3 separate regions of the Homo sapiens genome follow, and all the other regions are linked to region 2. Evidence: promoter capture Hi-C in 16 types of primary human blood cells and fetal thymus (Javierre and others, 2016). All regions are on one chromosome and are shown on one strand. The core of a region is centred on a gene start or on the middle of the fragment in contact, and the rest is flanking DNA. Distances in the headings are between cores, read along the strand shown.

The links. Contacts are between HindIII fragments. The CHiCAGO score rates a contact against its expected background, and 5 or more counts as called.
Region 1: a contact is called between a fragment that was not itself captured here and the fragment with the promoter of PEX2 in region 2, in 1 of 17 cell types (total B cells). The highest score is 5.3, in total B cells.
Region 3: a contact is called between the fragment with the promoter of HEY1 here and the fragment with the promoter of PEX2 in region 2, in 1 of 17 cell types (non-activated CD4 T cells). The highest score is 11.5, in non-activated CD4 T cells.

Annotation. Positions count from the first base shown.
Region 1 is chr8:74,339,038-74,343,085 of GRCh38, forward strand. No RefSeq gene overlaps it. Among named protein-coding and RNA genes, the nearest start is that of GDAP1, 9.3 kb to the right of the region's middle. The HindIII fragment of the contact is 1,562 bases long and covers 1,927-3,488 here.
Region 2 is chr8:76,997,857-77,001,930 of GRCh38, forward strand. It overlaps PEX2 (peroxisomal biogenesis factor 2), which reads right to left and starts at 2,222. Exons shown (of 4, transcript NM_000318.3): 1 at 2,134-2,222. RefSeq lists an enhancer at 2,217-2,511. The HindIII fragment of the contact is 1,935 bases long and covers 2,193-4,074 here.
Region 3 is chr8:79,765,111-79,769,295 of GRCh38, forward strand. It overlaps HEY1 (hes related family bHLH transcription factor with YRPW motif 1), which reads right to left and starts at 2,657. Exons shown (of 5, transcript NM_012258.4): 1 at 2,465-2,657; 2 at 2,109-2,184; 3 at 1,899-1,982; 4 at 1,541-1,622; 5 at 1-661. The coding sequence starts at 2,553. The coding sequence ends at 78. It overlaps LINC01607 (long intergenic non-protein coding RNA 1607), which reads left to right and starts at 3,032. Exons shown (of 4, transcript NR_125410.1): 1 at 3,032-3,108. RefSeq lists enhancers at 354-593, 2,180-2,229 and silencers at 2,680-3,159, 3,200-3,559, 3,660-3,829. The HindIII fragment of the contact is 6,216 bases long and covers 1-4,143 here.

The DNA of each region.
Region 1 (4,048 bases), core at 1,458-3,957, 2.7 Mb before region 2:
GTCTTAGGAAGAGTGGAGAGACTGAGCTCACACACAGGCAAGTAGAAAATCTTCAAGTGTTCTGGCAACACTTGGACACTCCCAACACTCCGCAGTGAAAAAGCCAATATTTGCCAAATTTCTAAGCTGTGCTTATCAGTCAAACTGTTTTTTTCACCCCCCGCTCCCCCCGCCCCCACCCTTTATCCATCTTTTCTTTCCTTAACAAGGTTACCACCAATAGCTGTTTATGGTACTAGTGGGATGCTAACAGTACACGTTTAAAATGTAGGCCAACAGATTTTGAAGCTTTTGATGACATACAGCAGATAGATTTGGAAATGCCTAAGAACTTCTCATTTTAACTTTCCTCCTGATAGAATCTATTTGTATCACTGGTTTTAGTCTTGTAGACTTGGAGGGAGTGGTGAAAGATGAACAGGCAGGGCTCAGCCACAAGGGGAGAAAAACGTCATCCACCCCCCAGAATAGCAACAGCAATAAATATGGTCATGTCGCTCTTCTGCTGAGGCTAAAACGACAGACAGGATCACATTTACGGCACCCAGCAGGCCCACTGCTATGAGGGGTGGCTCAGGGCTTTGGAAGCAACGTGTACAAAAGTTGGTGCTGATTTCAGAGCTGTGACTTAGCACAGAAAGAAACAGGGCATAGGGTCTAGACCCCAACTCAGAGCTAGAAGGGGCTTGGCACCCTCTTGGCCACAGGGGAGGACATTCTAAATCAGCTTTCAGGACAACTGGCTCAGGGCTCTTGAGAGCGGAGCTGAGAACTTCCCTGCATGTCTGCCTGAGAACTTGCTGTTGTCTGCAGCTGCCACAGCCGTGAAGGCCCAGATGTAATCAGGAAGGTAAAAAAGAGGGCTCTCATTGATCATCAGTTATTTAAAGAGGGCCCATCAGATTTCAGTGACTTCTTTGCACAGAATCAGCACCTTTGCTCTGGGAAGTCTAACAGGAAGGAATATCTCCCTTCAAAACTCATCAAGGCTTCCCTTCCAGACCAAGCCACTGGATTTTAGCCATTAAGGCTCTAGATGCCTCAACTTCATCTCTCTATTTTCATATATATTCCAATTTCATATACTAAATGTCCATATCTCTGGGGAGTTGTGTTTTTACCATCTTCTTTTGCCACTTGAAACTGGTAGGATGGGGCTTATGCATTTTCATAACTTGCATACAGCAGGAGTCTCTTAGGCTGAATAGTTTTCAAGCTAACATATGTAGCTGATTCTTCATATGTGCTTTGGAAACCAAGGCATCACCTGAATTTGACCAGTTTCCCTTTTTTCTGTTAAACTTCCCTGCTCCAAAATGATGCAGTTTCATAAAGTGAAGCTTTTCCGCTCTGCCATCTTTGTGGTTCACCGACTTTTCCAACCTGTCCCCGCAGGGAATCCCTGGAAGCAGGTTCACTTTGGCCACATCACCCCTTTCTCTCATGGAACTTTAGTAACCACAGACTCAACTCCGTGCTTTCATTTGTTTCAATTACATACTGAGGATTTAAATTGATCTTTTCTTTATGGATTGCAATATTACTTTTATTTGAAAAATATAGTACTTAAGTGAAAGCCAATGTTGTTTTACACTTTGGTGTCTCTGTAAAATTCAGCACTATATTCTATTGTCACTGTTATCTTATGCTTCTTTAGGATCTTATTAAGACAAACAAGGTAAGTGAAGTATGTTTTTATAGTACTGTAATCATTCTCATATTTGTGCTGTCACTGTCCTTGGTAACGGGTGGTTAAGAAAAAAAAAATCATACCAGTGTGTTGAAGCTGGTGCCAAAGAAACATAAATGATTATTGCTGCTCATTGTCTGCTGCTGCCCAGAACTTTAACTTGCCCTATTTATACAGTTACAAAGCAAAATCTTACTTAGAGAAACCTTTGCAACATTAGCATTTTCTTTCTTTAAAGCTTATGTCTCTGAGTTTTTATGCCGTGTTTCTCACGTAGCCAGAGACAATGCAGACATAAATTAACTTTTCTGTGTATTATTTAGTGACGAAAAGAACACAACAGCAAGGATGTTTGAAAAATAAATTCCAGTGTATTCTTAAATACTCTAATTTGAATGACAAAGCTATATTCCAAATGATCTTAAGTCTCTGGAAAGATTCCTTTAAATATGAAAAGAGAATGATAAAATAAGATGTCCAGGAAGACTACTTGAATCATTTACTGGGAAATAGCAAGAAAAAGGCACTCTCCACTGAGAGGATAGTTAAAATGTACAGAAACACATTTTAAATTAGTAAGAAAGCACTTAACTTTAGGAAATATAACTAATTAAAAGCTGCAATTTCAAACCTAAGCATTAAGTATCCTCTGTGCAGTGTGCGTTTCTAAGATTGTGTCTAAAATATCCTACAGGCTTTTATAGTTGCATTTATAAATATAACTCTTAATTATTCTTAATAAGACAAATGTTTGTGATACTATTAGTTTTATTCAAATATTGGATGACAGTGGGAAGTGCCTCCTTTTTTTCTCCTAGATTTTTCTTACTTTCATACTATAAGTGATTTTTGCAGAATATTAATATAACCATTGAGATGTTCTTTTAATGATTTTCAACAGGCTTAGCATGAAGTCAAGAAAAGAATCTGTGGAAATATGAGTAGTATTTAAGAATTTTTATTATTTGTTATTTCTTTCATCAACTGTAATTTCCAGCTAGTGGTGATTATTTCACATGTATTTTTGAAGTATAAATACCTAAAATTCATTGTAAACCATTAGAGAGAATTGCCAAAAATGAAGTTACAGAGTGCAGCCAATCTGGCAGGATACACTGGAGAACACATTATTAGCTGACATTTACCCAGAGTATTCAAAAAGTCAGTTATTTTTACCATTCTATCATTATTATCTATTATACTTCTTATGTGCCATGTGCTAAAATTGTGTTAGTTAACATGTTAAAAATCACAATGAATCCTCAAAATATCCCAATAAAGGTGGTGTAATTACTTTACCTGGATTATAGATGAGGAAGCCGTGCCCATGATCACATAGCTAGTGAGCAGTGAAGCCAGATTTGAATCCAGTTCTGGCTTTAGATTTTGAGCTCTTAACTACAACTCCATATTCTGGAGTGAAGGGTAATGCTATGTTACAGTGGAGAAATTACATGGTGAAGCCATTGCCCTCATACACTGGGAAGATTCCATGACCGAATCAATGTGTCCAAAAGCCAAGAAACTGAACTGAAGTCAGGCTGTGTTGCCAATAGGTAAAGAGAGGGCTCTAGAGTTGGTTCTGCATACAAGCTGAGGCAAGTGGTAGGCCACACCGAGGCTGTGGGAAATGATTAGAGCATACAGTGAGTTTGCAGCTAGAAGCGCTGGGTTTTAGTTCCAGCTCTACTGATTATTAGTGAGGTAGTGAACTTCACACCTCAGTGCTAATTTCTTATTTCTACTGGAAGGGTTGTTGGAAAAATCAAATGAGTACTGTTTACAAAGGCACTTTGTAAGCTTTTAGAAGGAAATTAGATATTATTAAAGCAATGTTGGGACAAATTTGTAATAAGTGTTGGTTTACTTTTAGCAGGATATTCTCTCTACTCTGTTTCTCCCAGTTTTTTTCTATGAACTCAAAACAATCTTGGGCAAAAATTTCCTAAGGTAAAATAATTAGTGACTTAAGGAATAGGTGATATTTATATGTAGGACTAGTGAAATCAAACTGATGACTGTGATTGTGCCTCATACAGTAAGGCCAGATCGTGTAGTGGTAAGAACACAATCTCTGGACCAGACTGTTGGGTTTAAGTCCCAATTTTGACATGAACAGTGTGAGTTTGGGAAAATTTTTGTTCCTCAGTATCCTCATCAGTAAAACAGGGATGAGGATTTCTCCCTGCTTTAAGGGATTTTGCAAGTGTTAAGTACAATATACATATAAAGCCCTTAAAACATTTCCTGGCACACAGAAAACACTCTAAGAAATATTAGCAACCACGTGGTGCAAATGCATCTTTGATTGGTCTATATTCATATACTTATTCTGAATATGTACACCGTTCATCACAG
Region 2 (4,074 bases), core at 972-3,471:
CACTTCCATGTAAAGAAACTACAGGGCTGGGTTTAAAAGAGCAGGATTACAGACAGGGCAAATGGAGCAATTTAGGGCTTTTCTCCTGAGGTTTCTTGTACATTCCAAAGGAATAGAAAAGGAACATGAAACATTTACAAACTGTTATCACTTCACAGAAAAGAGGTACAGAGAACATCCAATTTGCTTCTAGGTTGTCCAACTCAGATCATCAAAAGAGGAAAAAATGAAATAATTCAAGAGAGAACTTCTGGCCAGAAATAAAGATTGTGTACATTCACACATTTTCCTTGTGCTATTGGAACCTGAGAATGTGGATGGTGTGCAAGAGGGAAAGAAACTTACAATTATTTGATGTTGTGAGAAAAACATGGGGCTAGGACTGAGCTCTTTTAATGGGTGTGATGATGAGCAAGCCTGCTAATACCTTTAACGTTCAGGTACCAAATATGTAAAATGAAAAATACTTGTCCTCCCTACGGCAAGAATCATTATGTGCATCAAATATAAGCAAAACTTTTATGGCTAAAATAAAAGGATATGGAGAAGAAGGAATAATAAATTCTAATTCTGTTCATAAAGAAAAACATTTCAAATTTGTATTGATAAAATAAATTGAAACAGAATAGGGACATATTTGTAGCTTTTAGAAATAAATTAGCTGTGAATATATTATTTTTAAAAACTGTAATAAATGTACATTGAGTACAAATGAATAATTATCCCAAAAACCAGAATTTTAATGCTAGAAGAAAAGGCAGATCATCTCGTTTAAGACATAAATTTAATCTTCTTAACAAGAACCTTGTTATTCAAGCGGAACACCTAAATGGCTGCTCTTGTTAAAATAAACCTGAGGGTGGGCTTGCTTTGTCTCTCCCTGCACGGCTCCAGAAAATTTCTACACAAGTTCTCCTATGGAACAGTTTTAAAACCCCAGCTTGAGTACTAACACTAGTTTCTAAAAATAAGGAGAATACGGCCAAGAGGTAAAATTGTACAAAGGCAACTAGAGTCAGGACTAGAATCCAACTGTCTTGATTTAGTCTAATACTCTTCAGTCTACTAGTCTAGTATTCGCTCTATGTCCTGTTACTTCTATTTTTTTTTTTAAGAAAAAAATATGAAGGGTTTTTTTTTTTGACTCTGTAAATAATTCTTTCAAATCTCTTTCTGGCTCAAGATCACTCAACTGTAATCTTTCTGGAAACAAGTAATTGATAATATAGGTGAGATCAGATAAGTTAAAAGAGCCACCCCAAGTTCATTCTGTTCAGGATTAAGTAAAGGTAACACTTTAGGGGAAGGTGTTTAGACTACAAGCTGCGGTGTTGTGAGCGCCCAAGTATCATTTAATTGTCCGAAACGTCAAGATAAAATATTTCCGAGGGGCATCACGGAAGTTTAACAGAATGTGTTAGACTTGAACGTTCAACAGCTTGCTCATTTTGCCAAAAGCCCTTTCACTAAATGTGGGAAATTTGGAAAATGGTACCTCAATAAATAAACAAACAACGATTTTTAATTTAAGAACCCAGGAAAAAATGTTAACAATTCTCACATTCAGATTTCTTATCAAAAGTCAACGTGAAATATAACTAATTTATCGCAAGCAATTTTATCAGAAACTTTTCATTATCTCTTCCTCCATAAGAAAACCAAACTGCATTTACGTGCGCTTTCAACAGTGTTAGAAAACTAAGCACTCAAATTTTTTGTACTACATATAACACTTTACATGAACTTTCAGATATTAAGTAAAGTTTGGATCCTCAATTCTTTATAAAGCCGTTTATAAGAGGTAAATATCTTCACGACCGCCAAATGAGAGAAAAAGATTTCGAAGTTCGTCTCTTAAGTTACTACGTGGAATGCAGAGGGGCTCAACTGCAGCTGTGTGTGTGTTTATTTTTAATGCCGCGATCCTAAAAACATCTTTAGGAGTTTAGGTTTGCTTCACTGCCTTTCCCAAAATTCAGCAGCTTTGATTTGCCTTTTCCAGGGAGACAGGAAGCCAATAAACAGGGAAAAAAAAGCAAACGGCGACAATTACAAGGTCGTGAAACTCCACGACCTCCCAGCTGAAAACAAGACCTCGGGTTTGCACTCCGGCTCTCTAGGGCAGACACTGACCTTAGGAGTCTGCGAAACGCCCACGCTCCACGTAACTTTCTCTGAAACATTCTCTGGAAAGCTTGTCTTTTCCTAGCCGAATCTGGATTACCAAGGCTTCCGGAACTCGCAGGCTTCCGGAGCGACGCAGGAGCCGGAAGTGGCTGAAAAAAAAAAGAAAAAGTTACACCAACGAGAACTGCGCTTTAGCGGCGCTGCTGAAGGCACTGGATGGCCAAACAACCGCGAACGCCGACAAGCCGAAGAGCCGAAGGGCCGAAAAGCCGAAGCGGACACCCGCGCGCGGTGATTGGCCGGTTGGCCGGAAGAACTCTGTCTCTGATTGGCAGGAGAGTCACGAACCGGTCAGCCCCGGGTCAGGGGCCGCAAGTGAGGACACTACAAGTGTCGAGGGGCCTAGGGGAAGCCGGGGCTTGGGAGGGCAGGGCTTTCTCTGCTTGCGGACATCGCGAAGGGCCTCTGGCAGGCGCCGCCGGGTGGCGGCGAGACGCCTCCGCGCCTCCGGGGTTCCTTGTTCGCTGTCGGAGGAGGACCGGCTGAGGGATGGCCTGGTGGGGAGGGAGCCCTCGGGCAGGTGGCTGCGTCGGGCCTGGGGCAGTTGTGCTGCGCTTGGAGACCTGCCCGCCCTCGGGGCCTGTGTGCACAGGGAGGATAGGCTGTTTATCTCTGCAGGCTCAGGAAGGCAGGTAGCTGGCCCGTCAGTCATCCGCCCTGCAAAGCGCTCCCGAGAGACCCCGTAGAGCGGGCCAGCGCGCGCCTGGCCTGAGGTTTCCCGCCCCCGGAGGCCCTCACATCTCCCCGGTAACGCTTAGGAATTCGGGCAGCCAGCTCGCCTACCCCTGGGGAATCGAGGCAGAGCTTCTGGGAATGGGGTCTGAGGGAAGAGTGCTCACCAGGCAGTGACATGTAGCCGTTGAGGATCGCCACTGCCTTCTCGTTCTGTGGTATGAATGGCAGTGTCTCTCTAGAGAGTTAGTGCTTAAGTTTGAATGATGGCAGGCACTTCAGGATTCCAGCACGTAGTAGGGTTTAAGAACGTCTTAGTTCTTACCTCCAGTCTCGACTCACCGTTCCTACAAGGAACACTCACTTCTACGAAAGCTCTATTAGACATTCGAGGGAGAGCTTATACTGTAGAACCAGTGTTATTAGGAAAGTTTTTTTTTTTTTGCTTGTATTTTTATTTCAGAAACTACCCATGGAGCAGAGTTGCTAAAATAAAATTTATTAACTCTAATGCTATCCAAATTGTGAAACAATGGTACAAATGAGATAGAGTAGAAGCTACAAATTGATAGAGTATGTAGTTCACTTAGGGGTTTGGGAGTGGATTTTCTAGAGCTGCAACTGTCCAGTGTAGTAGTCACTGGCCACCTGAAAAGTGGCTAGTCTGAACTGAGGTCTGCTCTAAGTGTAGAACATGCACCAGATTTCTAAAGCGTGGTCTGAAAAGAAAAAGAATGTAAAGTATTTCATTAATTTTATATTGCTTACATGTCAAAATGAGAATGTTTTGGAAAATTTTAAATTACGTGGCTTCCATTATATTTCTATGGATACTGCTGTTCTAGAGAGTAAAAAAATCTCACTGAAGAAGAGTAGGCCTTTCGTTTAGCAACTGTGAAGAAAACCAACCACGCTGCACCTCTCAGGTAGCCTACAGATGTGCTGTGCTTCACTTAATTTTTGAGAGGGACGGGGGAAAATACACACAAAGACTTGATTGACATAGAGGACATTTTCAGAAAGCAAATTCTGGTTCATAGAGCCTTATGTATGTCATGTGAACATCACACAGTAGCGAATGAAAATAATAAAGATATCAAGAAACTTGAATCATATTTAATGAATCTCATTAAGAATGCGGGGAAACATGCAACAGTTAAAATTCTGTTGAAATTGTTTAAAATAAGTTCTAGATTTTAATGTTTAACCTGTAGA
Region 3 (4,185 bases), core at 1,407-3,906, 2.8 Mb after region 2:
ACTTTAAGGTGATGTTGGCAACAGTCCAGCCCAGCTGGGATTTTAAACTTTCCCCTCCCTCATTCTACATCAGTTCTTTAAAAAGCTCCGATCTCCGTCCCCCAAGGTCTATAGGGCTTGCCAAGGTTTGCAGCCTGCGTGGGTGCTGAAGGGCTCAGTGCATTGGGAGACAGTAAGTGGAAGGAGCCGAAAGAGAAGGGGAAGGCCGACAGGGAGGCCACTGAGGAGAGCAGAGGCGGCGACAGTTTGGAGGCGGAGGTGACCACAGGGAGCACCGGTCCGAGGCTGCCGCTAGGGGGCGCTCGCAAAGCAGGCGCCTCCGGATGTGCCGAGCCCAGCCTGCCCTGGTGGTGCGGTTCCGTGGGTGAGGCCGTGGTGCCCGCGTTCCCGTGGCCGTTCTGGGGCAGCAACAGCGGGTGCGCGATGTGCGGGTGATGTCCGAAGACGGTCCCCCAGGGAATGTGTCCGAGGCCCGCGTGGGCGCCGCTCGCGGCTTCCCGCTGGGAAGCGTAGTTGTTGAGATGCGAAACCAGTCGAACTCGAAGCGGGTCAGAGGCATCTAGTCCTTCAATGATGCTCAGATAACGCGCAACTTCTGCCAGGCATTCCCGAAATCCCAAACTCCGATAGTCCATAGCAAGGGCGTGCGCGTCAAAGTAACCTAAGCAAAAGAACAAAAGAAAAATCTCAGGGCTTTGCCCGTTTCCCTCATTTCTTAAGTCCCAGAGACAGCCCTTCCTGGCAGATACCTGCATCCCTTAAAACACAACAGTCAGGGGTTCTTCCGAAAGTCTTTGGAATCAACAAAAATCTTTGCATTAATCAACATAAGCAGAATGTGTTTGCTAATGCAAGTTCAAAGCCCAATTAGAAGCTGCAGAGCAGAAATTGGAATTATACCCTACCAGCAGATGAAACTATGTTCATTCCTTTAATGTTTTCCCTCAACAACAACAAAAAATACATCAAGGGCAGAGAAACCACAGAGCAGTGAAATTCATTAGACACACAGATGTAAGTTATCATCGCGGAGCTTTTAGGCACTTGGACCTCAGTAAAGCATTTTCCTGCTGGAGAGACATACACACAGACCTTGGTCTCCCGTTAGGTTTCCTTTACTTAACCAGAATACATTTCTTTCCTCAAGAGGCATGTGGCAGCACCTTTTTTTTAAAATCCCGTATACCAAAAATAAGACCACATATTGTTTTTAAATGCTTTTTCTCAAAATAGCAATGGACAAATGTGAAAGCTACCTGATCTGAATCAGGGCTGTCACAACTTTTGAAGACCTCACAAATAATAGGTATTTTTCCAAAAGATGCACTAGCTCAATCCGCAGAGAGCTGGGGTGGTGAATTCACTGGAGAAGATTCTATGTGCATTCGAAAATGTACTGACAGGGAACTGCACACACCACACACCGTTCTCTCCCCACCCCCAAAGAAAAATCAGGCAGCTACTGCACCAATCCTGGCCTTCAGCCGCTGCTCACTCTTTGCCAACCATTCAGAGCCCCCACTAGGTCTAGGAGATGTACCTTTCCCTCCTGCCGTATGCAGCATTTTCAGGTGATCCACGGTCATCTGCAGGATCTCGGCTTTTTCTAGCTTAGCAGATCCCTAAAGATGAGAATGGCAAAAGATTGATTTGGCACAAGTTCCTTTGGGGAACAATTTAAAATATGCAAACATATATACAAAGATACATGCTTTGTAAATCGTAAAGCATGGACTAAAGCAAAATCAGTTGTCTTCACAAAATACGCTGGTATCTGTGTACGAATTCATCTAGGCACAAGCAACACAGCTATTTTCCAAGGCGGATGAGATTAATGAGGGGAAGATTCAGAAGGTGCAGATAGCTATGCTGAGAGCTTTACCTACTTGCTCCATTACCTGCTTCTCAAAAGCACTGGGTACCAGCCTTCTCAGCTCAGACAAACTGTTATTGATCCGGTCTCGTCGGCGCTTCTCAATTATCTGCAGAAGGCAAGCAAAACAAAGGAAGGCATTACCATTACGACTGTAAATTTCAAAGACAAAAAAAAAGGTGGTTATTTCCGTTAATCAATAACAAAAATAAAAGGAGAGTGTAAAGAGACTCACTCCTCTCCGTCTTTTTCTGGCCAAAATCTGGGAAGATGTAGTTGGGGACATGGAACCTAGAGCCGAACTCAAGTTTCTGAAAAGAGAAAAAGAACAAACAAAAACTGAAATCGCCGTTAAACGAGGAGAGGTGATCTGAGAGGTCGCCCCCACACCCTCCCCGCACTCAGACTTTTTTTGCCACTTGGGCTGGAAGGCACCTAGGGGTTCCCTGGCCGCAGGCTGCCGCCAGCCTGCGACGCGCGGAGGTCAGCGCAGGGCACCGGCGCGCCAAGGGTCCTAGCCCGCTGTCACCGCGGCAGGCCTGCGCTCGCCTCCCGCTCTGGCTCGGCTCCGCTCCGCCGCCGCCAGCTCACCCATTCTCGTCCGCACTCTCCTTCTCCACCTCGATGGTCTCGTCCAGCTCGCTGTCCGAGGAGCTGTACTCGGGGTGAGCTCGCTTCATGCTGGCTCCCTGGGGGTTCCTGGGGAGGGTCGGCGCGGCGGGCAGGGAGGAGTTAACTACAGCGGCGCCTCTCCGCTCTCGGCTGCTTGCGTTCCGCACACACTGATCCCGCTCACGCTTTGCCTCTGGTTAAAACTCAACCATCCTTTCCCACGCTGAGCCCCTTCCCAGGGCCCTGGGGAGGGCGGGGGAGTGGGGAAGGCGGGCGAGGGGGCGGAGAGGCGGGGCGGCAACTCCAGGGCAACAGCCGCCCCCCGGCCAATCCGGTTTCTCGCGCCGCTGATTGGCAGCCGCTCCGGGGAGGGGCGGGAGCGAGGCCGAGGGCTCTAGCGGACCGCGCCCCCGCCCTCCGCGCCCGCCCCTGCCCGGCGGCGGTGCGTCGGCTCCGCGGGGGCTCTGTCCAGCCTGCACTCAGGGGAAGGAGGAGGCGCGGGCGGCGGGGAGGCGCGGGAGGCCGGGCCGGGACACAAGCCCGCCGGCGGCCGCGGCTCCTCCCCGCCCCGCGCGCCCCGATTGGCCTGGCCGCGCGCCAGGGCCGAGCCTGCAGCGCCTCCGGTGAGCCGCACGCGCCGCGGGCCGTGGGAAAGTGCCGGCGCCGCGGCCGCCAGCCAATCCGGGCGGCCGGCGACGGCGACGGCGGCGGCCGCGCTGGCGGCGGCGGCGGCGGCGCTGGGCGTCCGCATGAATGGAGAAGAATGGGCAGGCGGGGAGCCGGGCCGCGCGAGGGCGCGCCGGCGGGGGCTGGGCGGCCGCCGGCCGGGCCCCCAGTGTGAACCTGTAATCGGAGCCTGGGCGCCGGCCGGCCTCGGAAGCCGCCGCCTAGCGCCACCGTAAATCTCGCCCGCGTGGCCGCCAGTGCCCGGCGGCTGGAGGCGCGCGCTGTTAGTGGGGCCGTGCCGGGTGCACCTGGCCGGGCTGCGCGCCGGCGGCTCCGCGGAACCCGCAGGGAGCCGGGAGAGGGGGCGCCGGGCGCGTCCACAGTGGCCACCAGCCCAGGGGCCGGTCACATGGAGGAGCAAGCTGTGGGCTCAGGGGACGCTCTTTTTGATTTCTGGGACCGAGGCCGCACATGCAGCCAGACTCGTTTCCGCAGGGGCTTCCCAGCCGCGGAATGGAATGAATACCCCTGTGCATCTCATTTCCGGGGAAGGGGAGCACTTGTTTTTTCGGCCGCCTTGGGGAAAAAAAAACCCAACGGTCCCTGGGAATAATCATTATGCTGGGATTTTTTTGTTGTTCCCCCGCTGCCCCCCCCCCCGCCCCCTCCCCCCGGCGGCCAGATCCTCTCAGCGGGCGACAGGGTGGCGGTGCTGGCGTTTGCGTCTGAGGCCGGCCTTGCTGAGGGAATGCACGTCTCTGGCCCCAGACACACACCTCTGGCTTCGGTGGCTTGGCGTGGCGTGTACTGGGTGCCACGTGAAGTCCCCCCCGAGTCCACTAAGAAGACAGATTTTTTAAAAAATACAGTTGTAAATCTCGAAACTGATTTCTGATTCCAGAAACAGAATGGTTGTTTTAAATTTGAAAATCCGGTCTTCTGTCCCTTACAAAGGTACACAGCAATTCGCATTCATCTCAGATCCACTCTGAAGCTTGTAGTCCTGTCTGTGAGGGAAAGCTTAATATCCATCG